Linked DNA regions of Homo sapiens: region 2 is linked to region 1. The links are contacts of gene promoters, found by promoter capture Hi-C in blood cells and fetal thymus (Javierre and others, 2016). All regions are on one chromosome and are shown on one strand. The core of a region is centred on a gene start or on the middle of the fragment in contact, and the rest is flanking DNA. Distances in the headings are between cores, read along the strand shown.

What was found. Contacts are between HindIII fragments. The CHiCAGO score rates a contact against its expected background, and 5 or more counts as called.
Region 2: a contact is called between a fragment that was not itself captured here and the fragment with the promoter of ARIH1 in region 1, in 2 of 17 cell types (naive CD4 T cells and activated CD4 T cells). The highest score is 6.1, in naive CD4 T cells.

What each region holds. Positions count from the first base shown.
Region 1 is chr15:72,473,018-72,475,717 of GRCh38, forward strand. ARIH1 (ariadne RBR E3 ubiquitin protein ligase 1) reads left to right here and starts at 1,313. Exons shown (of 14, transcript NM_005744.5): 1 at 1,313-1,997. The coding sequence starts at 1,623. TMEM202-AS1 (TMEM202 antisense RNA 1) reads right to left here and starts at 1,222. Exons shown (of 4, transcript NR_135678.1): 1 at 858-1,222. RefSeq lists enhancers at 677-776, 2,227-2,436 and silencers at 1,017-1,356, 1,208-1,404, 1,447-1,676. The HindIII fragment of the contact is 10,721 bases long and covers 1-2,700 here.
Region 2 is chr15:73,048,577-73,051,276 of GRCh38, forward strand. No RefSeq gene overlaps it. Among named protein-coding and RNA genes, the nearest start is that of NEO1, 2.5 kb to the right of the region's middle. The HindIII fragment of the contact is 1,546 bases long and covers 505-2,050 here.

The DNA of each region.
Region 1 (2,700 bases), core at 63-2,562:
AACAAATCAGGGGTTTTGATTTTAAAAGGTTTTCAATCTGGCCAATTCTTCAGATTATCTCAAGAGGGAGCCTTCTTATGCCTCTTCTTCCTTCATAACACTTCTCTGGCTCGCATGTCCTGTTTGCAAAGATTTAAGCCCACTCTTAGGCATAAAATGCTCTTAACTGACATGACCCCTGACTAACTTGCCTAATATTTTGCCATGTACCCTCCATGCACTTTAAGCTCCCCAAACTATTACTTACTTGACACCTTCTGCGCTTTTGCTTGTTCTCTGCGGCTAGACCATCTTCCCTACCTTCTCTGTTGAACTCCTAGCCATTCATCAACACTCAGCTCACATAGCACACTTTCAGATGAGATTCAAGCATTATCTCTCTGGCTACATTTGGCCCTTGTAGATATTTCTATTATTGCCTGTATTTTGTTGAAGCATTCATGTCTTTTATGTACTACATAGTACATAATATATCTACATTACAAAGCATTTTTATGATTCATGTTTTGGGGCATCCAGCGGTTAAAATAGGGCAAGGGTTATGTGGTCTTGGCCAGGTCCCTTTTCCTTTCTGAGCTTCAGGTTCCTCAGGTATAAAATGGGTACTATGGCTCCGTGAAGATGAGACAGAATATATGTAAAGCCCTTACACAGTGCTCAATTCATGAAAATCATCGCTGTTTACATTGTTTAGGGCCCTCAAGAGGCGCTCTTGTCAGCGGGGTGGAGGAAATGCCTCTTTAAAATGACGTCATTATAGGAGACTTAAAAACCACTGCACGTCTGTACAAGTGGACAGAATCACACAGCTACCTAAAGTGGGTTCACCTGTCATACAGTTTAGAGGTTCCACTTACAACAGGTTTCCATCAGTAGCCAAAGCAACAGAAATTTTAGCTTAACGGCTGAGGGCTTCCGGGATTACCGCAGGGCGGGCGGGAAGCGCCTTTCCGCTCCGGAGGGAAGGCCGCGTCCCCAAGGGACTGCCTAAGTGGGCTGGATCCCTATGGCCTGCGGCAGACACCACCACGTAGGCGGTCCAGGGGTCCCTCTCTCGGTGACTGGTGACCAGGAGGCCGCAATCTCTTCACATAAAAGGTCTACGGGTTTCCGCTCGGCCCTCACAGCGGCAGCGGATCGAACCAGGAAAGCAATTCCCGCTCGGCTCCCCTCGGGTCCCAGGCCCAGGAAGGCCGGGCCGTGGGGTCTCCCCGGGCTCCACGCAGGGGCGGTGGGGCGGGGCGCAGTGACGCAAAGAGGAGTGACGCGACGACGCAGCGCGACGCGGTGACGCACGCCCCTTTGTTGGCTCAGTAGCGATAGCAGCGGCCGTGGAGGTGGCGTTGGGGACTGTTTTCTCTCGGAGGCCGGAGCGGAGCCGCGTCTGACTGAGGCGGGCAGCAAGCGGCCCCCTCGCTCCCTCCCTCCCTCCTCCGCGCCCTCCCCGCCGCCACCAGCCGTCAAACGCCAACCGCCGCTCCTGGGGAGGAGCCGCGGCTCGCGGGGCCGGAGCCAGGCCTGCGTCCGGACATCAGCCGGAGCCGGAGCGAGAGCCGGGGCCTCGGCGTCCCCGCCCTCTCCCCGCCTCGGCCAGCGTCCGCCGGGCCCCCGCGCGTCGCGCCATGGACTCGGACGAGGGCTACAACTACGAGTTCGACGAGGACGAGGAGTGCAGTGAGGAGGACAGCGGCGCCGAGGAGGAGGAGGACGAAGACGACGACGAGCCGGACGATGATACCCTGGATCTGGGCGAGGTGGAGCTGGTGGAGCCCGGGCTGGGCGTCGGCGGGGAGCGGGACGGACTGCTGTGCGGGGAGACGGGCGGTGGCGGCGGCAGCGCTCTGGGGCCCGGCGGTGGCGGCGGCGGCGGCGGCGGCGGTGGTGGTGGCGGGCCGGGGCATGAGCAGGAGGAGGATTACCGCTACGAGGTGCTCACGGCCGAGCAGATTCTACAACACATGGTGGAATGTATCCGGGAGGTCAACGAGGTCATCCAGGTGAGGGTGGCCGCCGCGCCAGCTGGACCGGGCCCGACGGGGGAGCGGATTCAGGCGGCACGCGCGGTCCCGAGGGACAGGCCTGGGCCTGGTGCGCAGCCTAGCCCGGTGCCTCCCGGCCTTGTCTTCTCCGCTGCCTCTGCTGGGGATAGAGGGTGTCGAAAGCAGAGGTTCGCCGATTAGCCGGGTGTGGGGAGGTGCGCTGGGGGCGGTGCTTCCCAAGTCCTGCTATGGCGGAGGCCTTCGGTCGCCTAAGCCTTCTCTTGCGGGCAATTTCTGCCAGTCCCTGGGCCGGGTGTCCTTTCTCTGGCCGGGCGATCGCCTACTGGGGCGGGGCGGAGGAGGTGGGGTGGAGAAGAGGAGTCAGGAAGAATTGGGCCCTGACGGGACTTACCCCGGCCGTAGCCTCATTTGAGCACTTTTGGAAGGGATTAGAGTAGGCCTAAGAGCAGCTTGGTGTACAGTTGCCCCAAGTGGGCACCAGTTAATAAAGAAATGGATCTTGGCAGTCTCAAGTGCCTACTTAAAGGTGGGGGAAGGGAAGTATTTCTCGGAAGAGGTGCTGATGGGCCTTCTTTTCAGATGGTGAGGCTTCTGCTTACATCTTTTTTATGTCTTTGCTGTTTGGGACCTAATTGCTACTTTTTCTAGTCGTAGCAGATGACTTGCTTGAAGCTGTTGGAATAGTTACTGCATATTGCAT
Region 2 (2,700 bases), core at 28-2,527, 580 kb after region 1:
CTCCCTGCTAAACTCCAGATCCAAGTAATGAACGGCTTACTGATATTTCTACTCAGATGTATTTAAAGTACCTATGTATGCATAGGTACTTTAAATTTCCTTGTCCAAAGTTAAACTAACATTGTCTCCCATCTGCTCATCTTTCTCATTCCCCCCTCAGTGAATGCCACCACCTTCATTCAGCTTCCCAAGTTGAAATCTGAGTTACCCACATCTCCTATCTCTCCCACACACCCCTGCTGTTTCTATCTATCTCCTAAATCTCTCTCTTATCTGTTCACTTTTCTTAATCCCCTTTGCTTTACTCCAGGCCACCATCATCTCCTCCCTAGACTATTGTAACAAAATCTGAACTGTTTTTTTTTTTTTTTGGTCTCGACTTCTTCCAAACTACACTCCAAGAAGCAGCCTCAGTGTTCCCTCTAAAACGCAAATCTGAGGTCAAATCCCACCTGTAGGCGTGGCTGACTCCTATCTACCTTCAGGTCTCTGTTTAGAGGCCAAAGCTTCTCTAATTCTCCTTCTCCCACCCCCACACACAATTTAGTCAAGTTAGATGCTCTTACTAAGTTTTCCCACACTCCTTATCTTTCCTTACCATAACAGTCTTTACACTTCTTTGTTATAATTGTTTACCCTTTCTGCTAGACTGGGAACTTTGTTTATCTGGCTCATCACTGTCTTCCCTTAACATAAGCCAGGACCAGAGACACAGGATGTACTTTATAAATATTAAATGAATGAACCAATAATTTTGTTATCCCAGCATCCAGCACAATACTTGGTGAAAACAGGTCCTCAATAATTTTTGCTGAATTAATAGATTGTTGTTGAACTAAAGATATGTGATCAACTAAGCAACATGTGACAAGCAAAATTAATATTGAGCATGCTTGTACTTAAAAAGGAGCACACATCCTTTTTAATTACGCTTAATCAGAGATGGCTCCCTAGAGCAGGTGGCTTCTGAAGGAGAACGGGAGAAAATAAAAATTCTTACCTAGTGGAATGTAAAGGGCAAATATAAAAATAACAATCTCTGTGCAGAAGAAAATCACTTTCTTAAGACTGGGGCAACTTCTAGTTGAAGTCTGCTGTGACTAGGAAGTGTTCTATCCTGAGATCTGCTAGTCAGGGGACTAGCTTTCTTCTTCTCAACCTCGGACACTGGGATTCAGCCAGGGAATCAGCTGCAGAATCTCATTACTGCCAGCAGTTAAACACTGAATTGTACGTCCTTTCTAATGTTGAAAAAAAAATCCTTTTACTATAGAGAATAAGATTCCTACCAAGTTTTATATTCATAGGCTTTAATATTTCATGTAATTTTTATATCAAAATACATTAGCATAAATTTCACAAGATATCAGTCTAGTTATTTTTGGCCTGCATTTCGATAACTTTTACAGACACACAATGGCCACTCTGTTTTCTTTGCTCTAAAGTTTCTTTGTGCACTTATTCCTTGAACATGGGCCTCATGTTCTAACTTTACTTAGATGAAAAAACTGTTAATTTCACCAGTGGTTTAATATCTCTTCATAGATTGATAGTTTAGACAACATAAAAGTGTTGATTAGCAGTATACGTGCAGGCTGAAGTATTTGTTGAAAATCTTGTTGGGAGAATAAGAATGATAAAAGAGATGCCTAAGAAAATCTTTTCTCAGATATGCTTTACTAAACAAAGAACAGGTTAATTACTCAATGATGATTTTTAAAGGGCATGTCGACAGTGTCAGTGACTTTGAAACAAAGTAAAGGAGCTGAATTCAAGTGTGTGCCTGAGTTACTTAACTATCTTGAACTGATTTAGGATCTGTAGCTTTAATCTGGGGCTCCATCTACTAGTGGTTTAATAGAGTGGGTTTTATTAAAATTGTGATTTAATCAGAAGCCAGAAATATACAACTGTTTTAAACTTTTTGATATTAACCTGATATACACAGTGGGCTGATAAATTAGTGAGACAGTTCATATAAGTCATATATGAAAATCAGTCTGTTATTAGCCACAACTCATGTATTTTTCAAAACTTGGAGATAAATGTAAGCTTCATCTCAGAAGTCATATTACACGTTATAGGTTTAATATAATGAAATTTTTCCAGACTTAGAAAAGATATCAGGAAATTAACATTTGCAAGGCAATTTACAGTTTTCAAAGAGCTTTTCTCATTAATTATCTCAGAAAACTGAATAATGATGTGATTATTAAAGGTTAATTAAGCAAATACTTGTGAAGTAATTGGGAGGTAATCTATTTCTAATTTAACAGGTCAATCACGGGTATTTAGGAAATATTTTTGCTGGTTAACAACTCTAACCAAAACAAAAAGGTATTTAAATGGTTTCCCTAGTGAAAAACCATAAGCATGTGTTTCCTCTATTAAGTCAATTGTTTCAAAGAACTAGCATGAGAATTCCTAATTTCACCGTTTTGATGATTTAAGGTTTTATGAAGATTCTGAGCTCTTCCCTCCCGACGTTAATCCATGTCTTACATTGTTCATTTTGGCGCTTTAGAATAAAATATCTTTGGAAAGTAACTATGAGAAAGCACAGAGGGATATGTTAGTGAAATAGCCATTTTCTTGTGGGAAGCAAGACATTTCGGTTATCGACTACACAGAAGAGTGAATAAAACCCAACGCCTATCAACCACCAAACGTGACTCTGCTTGCATAATCATACAAATAAAT